Regions from separate parts of the Homo sapiens genome. Here regions 1 and 2 are each linked to region 3. Evidence: promoter capture Hi-C in 16 types of primary human blood cells and fetal thymus (Javierre and others, 2016). All regions are on one chromosome and are shown on one strand. The core of a region is centred on a gene start or on the middle of the fragment in contact, and the rest is flanking DNA. Distances in the headings are between cores, read along the strand shown. Region 1 overlaps DENND4A (DENN domain containing 4A). Region 2 overlaps DENND4A (DENN domain containing 4A). Region 3 holds the start of DENND4A (DENN domain containing 4A).

The links. Contacts are between HindIII fragments. The CHiCAGO score rates a contact against its expected background, and 5 or more counts as called.
Region 1: a contact is called between a fragment that was not itself captured here and the fragment with the promoter of DENND4A in region 3, in 4 of 17 cell types (total B cells, naive B cells, megakaryocytes and 1 more). The highest score is 7.0, in total B cells.
Region 2: a contact is called between a fragment that was not itself captured here and the fragment with the promoter of DENND4A in region 3, in 2 of 17 cell types (total B cells and naive B cells). The highest score is 7.9, in total B cells.

Annotation. Positions count from the first base shown.
Region 1 is chr15:65,722,424-65,725,576 of GRCh38, forward strand. DENND4A (DENN domain containing 4A) reads right to left here. Exons shown (of 33, transcript NM_001320835.1): 12 at 425-525. Among named protein-coding and RNA genes, the nearest start is that of MIR4511, 4.7 kb to the left of the region's middle. The HindIII fragment of the contact is 1,381 bases long and covers 812-2,192 here.
Region 2 is chr15:65,699,960-65,703,292 of GRCh38, forward strand. DENND4A (DENN domain containing 4A) reads right to left here. Exons shown (of 33, transcript NM_001320835.1): 16 at 2,914-3,049; 17 at 2,346-2,552; 18 at 1,803-1,931; 19 at 1,092-1,233; 20 at 585-716. Among named protein-coding and RNA genes, the nearest start is that of SNORD13E, 4.7 kb to the left of the region's middle. The HindIII fragment of the contact is 8,993 bases long and covers 1-3,333 here.
Region 3 is chr15:65,790,666-65,793,940 of GRCh38, forward strand. DENND4A (DENN domain containing 4A) reads right to left here and starts at 1,628. Exons shown (of 33, transcript NM_001320835.1): 1 at 1,345-1,628. It overlaps LOC105370866 (a long non-coding RNA gene), which reads left to right and starts at 1,808. Exons shown (of 3, transcript XR_932372.2): 1 at 1,808-2,107. RefSeq lists a silencer at 1,185-1,514 and enhancers at 1,516-2,481, 1,705-2,324. The HindIII fragment of the contact is 1,569 bases long and covers 700-2,268 here.

The DNA.
Region 1 (3,153 bases), core at 252-2,751, 68 kb before region 3:
TGCCACACACTATAACCTGGGTGACAAAGCAAGACCGTGTCTCAAAAGAGAAAAAAAAAACAATATAAAGGTGGAACCCCACATTTTTTCCATGGTATTTCAGTAACGGTAAAATAAACCACCTTAACATCCTTTTGAATTTTATTATTTTAAGATGGTTCTATAAAAATTTGGTAGATATAATATACATATTTTGCATTCCAGCCTGGCAACAGAGCGAGACTCCGTCTCGAAAAAAAAAAAAATACACATTTTATAAATCTCTCATTCATCTTCTAACAAATTTTGCTTTAATGATCATCTGCCTTTAAAATGGTAAAACCGCTTTCTGCTAGATAAACATTATTCTTTTATAAGTAAGGCAAAGTAATTGGAGTCCCTTTTTCAGATTAAATTACCTCCTTTAATTAAGTTATCCACTTACATTTTGCCAATTGCTGATGCAAATTATTCAGTGTGTTCATCAGATTTTTACATGGCTTCTTTGGAAGTATCTTCCAGGCTACATTTTTCTTGTCACCAATTCTAAGATTAAATAACAACAGGAATATATTTGTTACATGGTCTTTTGGAGGGGAAAGGTATATATCTGTTATATATAAAAACGGGAAAAGATTAAACACCTTGAATGAAAAATGAAAAACAAAATATTTGCATTAACAAGAGAAAAATCCTACAGGGGTAAATTGGCATGTTGAATATACAAAAATTAATTTGTATGAGGGTAGAACCTTGTATTAAATATAGTTCACAAGTTTATATTTATACTGAGTAAATTCCAGTTGCTTTGGAATCTTGCTAATCACCATAAAGCTTAATGTGGTGATCTTTACTCTTAATCTCCATTTAAGTGTGCTTAGACACCTAAATAATAGAAAAATCCTACCATAAGTTTTTTTCTTAAATACTGTAAGAAAAAGCACTACAAAAACTTTCAGTAAATTCATGATCCACAGAGCTTATCAAAATACTTCGGTATATTTAAATACTTAGTTTCTTAGTTTCCTAAGAGTATAAGTAAGGATCATTTTTGTTTCTTTCAAAAAAGAAATAACCTATTATACTAAATTACTTGAATAAAGCATAATATTGTGAAATACTTATATAACTATAAAAGAGGATATCCGTTAAAAATGATAAAGCAGTTTCCCCCTTATCTGTAGAGGATACATTCCGAGACCCCCAGTGGATGCCTGAAATCACAGACAGTTCAGAACCCCATATTTACTATGTTTTTTCCCAAGCATATATACCTATGATAAAGTTCAATTTATAAATTAGGCACAGTAAGGGATCGATAACAATAATTTATAATAAAATAGAATTATAACAATATACTTTAATAAACGTTATGTGAACGTGGGCTCTCTCTCTCAAAATAACTTATTGTACTGTACTCATGTACTTTCAGACTATAGTTGGCCACAGATAACTGAAACCATGGAAAACCAGACTGTGGGTAAAGGAGGAACTATTGTATCTTTGTTTCTGGGACAGGCTCCTATAATCTCCTTTATTATAGCAATTACAACACAGTTGGTCTCTAAACCATACATGGGGTAGGAGTAGAAAAGAGCATGGTGATAAAGCATTGCAAAGCATTTGGACTTAAAGATAGCTTTAATGACTCCACTTTAAAAAAAAAAACCAGAGAGACAACGTCTCACTCTGTCACCAAGGGTGGAGTGCAGTGGCATGATCACGGCTCACTGCAGTCTTAACTCCCAGGCTCAAGTGGTCCTCCCAAGCAGGCCTCAGCCTCCCAAGCAGCTGAGACTACAGGCGCGCACCCCTACAGCCTGCTAATTTTTATTTTGTAGAGATGAGGTCTTGCTTCGTTGCCCAGGCTGGTCTTGAACTCCACATCTTAAGGAATCCTCCTGGCCTCTGCCTCTCAAAGTGTTAGGATTACAGGCAAAAGGCACTGTGACCAGCTGACTCTACTTTTTTTTGAATCGTTTTTTTTTTTTTTTATTTCAAAAGCAATGAATATTCATTTTAGAAAACTTGAAAAATGTATAGAAAAAGAAAAGAAAAGTAAAACACTCATATTTTAACCACCACAGAACAACATAGCACAGGTGTGTAGTGGAACTTGCTGAACCTTTTTATATTCCCTAAACTTCCTACAGAACAAAAAAGGGCAAATATCACTTTGAAAAGTAAACAAAGAAAAAAGAGTGGGATAAGAAAGCTTAAGCTGAACAAAAATGACTGTCTTGGAATTTGTCCCCTCTATCTTTCCACAAATGAGAATAAAAATAAAGATAGGGCAAAGTCAAACTGCAGATGTCCTGCTGTGAAGGTGTGATTACATTTACAATGTGACCAACAGGATCCTGTGTTATAGTAAGAACGCAACATAGAAACACTTTTTAAAATTATTTTCTTGATGAAACTCAGTAACACAGCTTTCCCACTGTGTCTTACCATTCACTGCATAGTGCCTGTCTTGCTAGACTTAATTATGAGTGTCTTAAGAGAAAGAAGAATATGTGGTTTGCTATTTTATTCCCAGTGCCTAGCAAAAAAAGGGCACTCGGGATATGTTTGTGGCGTAAATGAATGAACAACATCTTGGTATCATCTGATCACATCTAATTACTGTTACTTACTGCTATAATTTCTGCCTCTTTCCTTTGATATCTTCCCTCTAAAACTTGGCTGGGTAAGGGAATTTTTTGAAGTACTTGAGTTTGGTCTATGATCATCTTCTTATAAAAAAGATCATCTTATGAGTAAATGTATATTTACTCATGATGACTTCCACTTACAAGATTACTACATTATTTTATGACATACACATATTATATAGTTACCCAATAATTAGTGGTAGAAGCATTAGTTTTGGAGTCAAACAGTAATGGCTTTAAAATGCAGTTCTGACAACATAAGCTATATGCCCTTTGATAAATCGCTTAAAAATCTAAGCTTTGGTTTCCTTGTCAGAAGGGTTAATAAGAACTACCTCGGCTGGGCGCGGTGGCTCACGCCTGTAATCCCAGCACTTTGGGAGGCCGAGGCGGGCAGATCATGAGGTCAGGAGATGGAGACCATCCTGGCTAATGCGGTGAAACCCCGTCTCTACTAAAAAATTCAAAAAATTAGCCAGGTATGGTGGCGGGCACCTGTGGTCCCAGCTACTCGGGAGGC
Region 2 (3,333 bases), core at 228-2,727, 91 kb before region 3:
GAGCTATCACACCCAGCCTTAAAATGCTATATTTTTATATATTTAAAATTTTTTATTATGACTTTTAAAATCACTTAAGATTTAGAAGTTGCAAAAACATTACAGTACAGAGAGTTCCTTGGTACAATTCACCTAGCTTCCCCCCATGATAATACCTTACATAACCATAGTACATTGTCAAAACCAGGAAACTGATGTTGGTACAATACTATTAACTTAGACACAGAGCTATGCTTCTTTTTTTAAAAAACTCTAATATCATTTTCATAATTTCAAAGAATTTATTATAAGAAAATGATAGGGTAAACAGATCTATGTCTACGCAGAGTTAACTGGATTATCATATACTAAATACTTGAATAAAGTGATTTATAACCTCTCTTAAAACTTTTATTTCTATTCAAATAAAGAATGAATAAAATTTCATATAGTTATTAAATCTAATATCAAATAAAATACATAATATATAAAATTAAAAAGTGACAGTTAAACATCACTGAAAATGAAAATGTAAAAAAACATAGGCTAGCAAATCTAGTTTTAAAAATGTACTATAATAAATGTATACATAAGCATACACAAACCTGTACTAGATCTATCATCAGTAGCATATACTTTGATTAAACCCGTATTAAAAGGTGCCTGCTCCACAGTGTGTGTCCCATGACCACTATCCATGCTGCCATGACTAACAGCATCCAGGTCACTGCCATCTGCTTAAGAACACAATTTGACAGCATTTTACTACTCGAAGAGGTAAATACACATTAATTTGTTGCTCAAGCTAATAATCCACCAATGTAATACTGAACATGAAAAGTGCCACATACTTAGCAAAATACAACTATAACAAAGAAACCTATTGTGAGTTATTAATGAACACTAAAACACACACAAAGGTCGTCAGAAGTTGAAACATTTAAACAGAAGTGAAATCTGGTGGTTTTTAAATGGGAAGAGTAATATAATTTGCTTAATAAAACTAAAAACTAAAACATTCAATATTTTAAAACTATTTAAAATTTCTAAAAATGTAAACTGTAGCTAATCAATTAATTTTGAAGAACAAGTAAAACACATACATCCCTTACCTGAGAGAGTTGTTTGTGATAAGTGTGCATGCTTCTTTAAAGCTCTTTTGAACTGTGTTACTCCTAAAACAACATTTCTTACTTTTGTCCAAAGAAAATAGCCACTACGACTTCTTGAAGGCCAGGTACTTTCCAAAACAGCCTATTCATTCAACAAAATAAAATAATTAGTAAAATAATTTTTATAAGTGAACATATATTGGTTTCAGAATTAAGCTAAAGAATATCAAAGTAGGCCAGGAGTGGTGGCTCATGCCTGTAATCCCAGCAATTTGGGAGGCTGAGGCAGGTGGATCACTTGAGCCCAGGAATTCAAGACCAGCCTGGGCAACAAGGTGAAACCCCACCTCTCCAAAAAATATGAAAATTAGCCAGGCATGGTGGCACATGCCTGTAGTCCCAGCTACTCAGGAGGCTCAGGTGGGAAGATCAATTGAGCCTGGGAGGTCAAGGCTACAGTGAACCATGATTGTGCCACTGCACTCTAGCCTGGCGCTAGAGTCTCACAGAGTGAGACCCTGTTTCAAAGAAAGAAAAAATCAAAGTAGATTGTATAACATAAAAGAGAACTAAAGTCTTCCTTGATTGACAAAATGTATTTTATATACTCTAAAATAAATGCCAAATAACCCCCTGCATAAATTATTTCTGCCATTAATGTTGCATAATGACAAAAGTAATACTCTTTATCCATTAAACCAAGGTATTTACCTTATTATAATAACCATAAGTAATGGCATTGGGGTCAATACCAGCTTTCTGCATTTCAAAAAGCACTCGAACTGCAAGCACTGGCTGATCATATTGTCCACAGAGTTGCATAAGAATGCGGTAGCATACCTGAAATACAAGTTCAAAATTGTACCGAAACACAGATGTCACCATGTACATAAATCTAGAATAAAATAATGCATTTTAAACAATAATTGTGGCAGGGCACAGTGGCTCATGCCTGTAATTCCAACATTTTGGGAGGGCAAGGCAGGTGAAGCTCTGGAGCCCAGGAGCTTCTGACTAACCTAGACCACATAGTGAGACTCTGTCTCTACAAAAAAATTAAAAAATTAGCCAGGCGTGGTGGCACATGACTGTAGTCACAGCTATCTGGGAGGCTAAAATGGGAGGATTGCATCTCTTGAGCTCAAGAGGTTAAGACTGCAGTGAGCCATGACTGCATCACTGCACTCCAGCCTGGGTGACAGAGTGAGACCCCATCTCAAAAAAATAAAATAACAACAATAAAATAATTGTTACCTCATCAGGTGGATCCATCTTCTTTGACTGCATTTTTTTAAGCACATCATATGCTGTTTTCAGAGCCCTGACTTTTGAATGACAGACTTTCACATAAGCTGGGAGACAAATAAACCACAGTCCATAACAGTGGCGCAGTAGACACCTAGACCACATCTGAGGGATGGAAGAGTACCTCTTTGCAATTTTATGGGCTGATTTAATTTCCTGGAAAAAATATAAAGATCTTACTAATAAATTTATGCACTTAGGCATCTTTATTTAACTGAGTGCTAAACAAGTACAAGTCACATGCTTTTATAATGTTTCCATAACAAAATATGTCTGTAATTAATGCGTTTTCAAGTTTCTTTTTGAATCTGTATTAAACAGCATATAAAATAAAGTTCTAGGACAAGAGAACTAGTTAATTTCTTGAAGTCAGATTGCTCCATCTTCACAGTGCTTTGGTGAACATAATAATCTAGTAATAGTTATATATGAAGTGATAAAGCATATTACGGGAGGATAAATATCCAATTTATTTCTTGTTCTAAAATTTGATTACATGAAGAATGTGATAAAGTACCTGTTTTGTTCTTCTGAACATGGGCAAAGGGCTATTAGGACTACTTGATTTTGAAGGCAATTTGTTCTTCTTTGCTTGTAGAAATCCTTCAGGTCTTTCAAATAAATTGTTCCTAAGAACTGGAAATCCATTATAGCTGTTTTAGAAAAAACAAAACAAAACAAAAAAGAGTTCTCAAGCACACATAGATGATCATAGTGGTTACAGGTTAATATAATTACGACCAATAACTTCTTCACATAGAATTTAACTATCTTTCTTTGTCAGGCTGTGATATACACTCAACAAATATTCATGCTAATGTTGCTCTTCTTACTATAATTAGAAATGTAATAGCCAAATTCAGACTCAAGTTAGTTTTTGAGGAAAAGGGAAAAACATAAATGAACATGACATCCAACTCCAAGGTAACTTTAGCAA
Region 3 (3,275 bases), core at 378-2,877:
TTCTGCCCAAAACAGTTTCCAAAAAAGAAGCCAAATATAATATTTTATTTTAAGTTCAAACAGGGTTCAAACAGCTCAGAAATTTTGTATACTTAAGTTTTCAGAAGTCGAATCCCAGAACCGCTATCAACATAAACTGAATAACTTGCTCAAGAGTCCTTACTTATTACCCAATCTTAGGTCCCCCAGAATACTTCTTAAAATAATCCCAAATGTACTACAATAGATTAGCGTAACCGGGGCTACGCTGTTTACAGGTGTCTCCACCTCCTCCCCCAAGGAGAGAAGAGGTATACTAGGGTAAACAGAAAATAGAAGGAGACTATATACACACCAAATAACAGCTTGTAATCTTCTAAGACTTCTTTTACATTCGGGCTATTCTTTTCATTAACGTATAATACATTTTAAAGAATAACATATTCACAGAGTAATACAATTTCTGCCCTCACGGGTCTCTAGCTGGCTGACACGCGTTTTCTCCTCAAATAAATACATGCCTGTTGACTGATGCCTGTCCTGCTGTTGCAAACAAGAAATAACTGTCCTATAAGACAAAAACCTCTCTCTACGGTTCTAGGCGTAACCATACGTTTGAATTAAAAGCACATTGGAACAACAACAACAATCTTCCAGCACATCTGTCATTTAAAAGCACGATAATGAAAAGCTGTCGCTGCGACCCAATTTTAGGTCACAAGCTTTTTACTGTTTTTCCTGCCCCCCACCTCCAGAAAACAATAAACTTCAAAGGGAATGGTGGTAACCAGGAACAGTTCCCTTCCCCCACCACACACCCCCCCAAAAAGACTAGAAAAAAAACTGGTCAACTTGGACGCTGGCCGCGCTCACGCAGAACCCGTGCCCGCGGGCCGGGGAAGGCTGAACAGACCCTGGGAGGAAAAGTGGGCCTGCAGGCACCCCGGGCTCCCCCCGCCGCCTGTCTCAGATACCGAGCAGGTGGGATTCCGGGAAGCCACCTCCGACTTACGTAACGGGCTTGTCAAAATCCCAGATCCAGGACCTCCCCCTCCCCGCCCCCACTCCCAAATAACAACAGCCCCAGGCCAGCCTGGAATAGAAAATCTGGAATGAAAACACAGGAGCCCCCCACGCGTCCGACGCAGAGGCGCGGGTGCTACTCTCAGCACCGCCGCGCCATCCCGGGGCGGACCGAGCCGCGGAGCACCTCCCGGATCTCAGGAGCTCTCGGGCGGAGATCTCGGCCATCCGTGCCTCCTCCCCGAACCCACCCGCCCCGCTCCCGCGCCCCCGGCTGTCACCTCTCCGGGCCGTGACAGCTCCACCTGCCACCGCTGCCCGGGTCGCCGCCCCCGCACTCACCACCCAGCTGGCTCCCGTGCGAGCAGCGGATCGAGCTCGGAGAGCGGCGCCGGAATCCCGCACGCGCGGTAGCGGAACACGAGGGGCTGAATGCCGCGGCGCTCTGAGCCCGCTTAGCTCATCCCCAGCCCGGCGCTCCGCCCTTCGCGGCACCCCCGCCCGCCCGCCCAGGCCTGCCGTCTCAGTCAGACGGGACTCCCCCTCCCCTCGCGGCCGCCACTGCCTCCGCCTCTTTCTCCGACTCTAGCCTCCGCGGCCACCGCGACCGGCGCCATCTTGGCAATGACGGAAGGGGCGGGGGCGGGAATCACGCCCGCGAGCACCAATCGAAGGCCGGATCTGGCCCGAGTGGGAGGAGAGGGCCGAGTTGAGGGTCGTGGGGTCCTAGCGCCAAACTGATAATGGGGCGGTGAAGGTGGGCGGGACTAAGTCGCCTTAGTCCGTGACGTGCGGTGTAGTTGGGGAAACGCACCGTGGTTCCCCGTCGGGTCAGGAGATCCCGAGCCCCAGGCTGGCGTGGGCGAAGCGTACAATCCCTTCACCTTTCGTCACCCAGAGGCACAAGAATCCAGTTCGCGCCAACTGACCTGTTTCTTCCTTCCTCCCCGGCACTCTGGGAGTCCTGAGATTGCCTTGCTCGGTTCGTCTCAGACTTGCTAGATCTGAGCAGCTGCTGCTCCTCCACCAAGGGTGCTCACATTCTCCAGGAAACTCCCTTAAGGGTTAGCAACCGCCGAGTAGGTTTCGGTCCCAAGATAGAAAGGTAAAGCGGGGAATTCAGGGGGTTTCTCCGAAAAGTACGTTGATGAAACAGCTATTGTTGACTGACGGGGTGTCGATTACTTTGGATTAATTGGATACGGCCTACTTAAACCTGACTGTGGCTCTCCACCATTGATGGCTGTTGACAGATGAGGTTAATAAAGCTTGATTACCCCCATGGGGTTGCTCGGGAGTTAAATTCTATAGTACCTGTGAAGTACTTAGTATAGTGCTTGAAAGTACTCAATAAATGTTAGACATTATTCCATGGACAAATGAAAGAAGAAACAGGACCCCCAAAATCCCTCTGCTTTAAAGTCAACTTTTCCTAAATTGCATAGCCTTTTACTAACCAAGTTTACAACTTTATTTCCTACCTCCAGTTCTTTCATTGTATTCATTCATTCAGTCAACAAACATCCATACAGAGGGTGCACAGTGGTGAGGGAAACAGAAAACCTTTGCCTTCAGGAAACTGCAGTTTAGTGGGAGAAGAGGGACAATAAAAAAGTACTTAAGCACATTTTAAGGGGAAACATGCTATAAAGGTTAGAAAAATAACTGAGGCCAGGCGCCTTTGCTCATGCCTGTAATCCCAACGCTTAGGGAGGCCGAGGCAAGAGGGTCAGCTTGAGCTCAGAAGTTCAAGACTAGCCTGGCAAAATGGCGAGAACCCTGTCTCCACCAAAAATACAAAAAATTAGCCGGGCGTGGTGGCGTGCGCCTGTGGTCCCAGCTACTTGAGAGGCTGAGGTGGGAGGATCGCTTGAGCCCCAGAGCCGGAGGCTGCAGTGAGCCGAGATTGTGCCACTGCACTCCAGCCTGGGTGACAGAGCAAGATTTTGCTTTAAAACAAAACAAAACAATCGAGTTGCATACTTTAAATATATGTAGTCCTCTGTATGTCAGTTAAAGCTGTAAAAAAAGACTTGTTTTTGACACAGAGTCTTGCTATGTTGCCCAGGCTGGAGTGCAGTGGCCTGATCACGGCTTACTACAGCCTCCCTCCCAGGCTCAATTGATCCTCCCACCTCAGCCTCTGGAGTAGCTGGGACTGCAGGTGCCCACCACCACACCCAGCAAATTTTTCTGTTTTTTGTAGAGACTATGTCTCACTATGTTGCCTAAGGCCGGTCTTGAATTCCTGGGGTCAAGTGATCCACCCACCT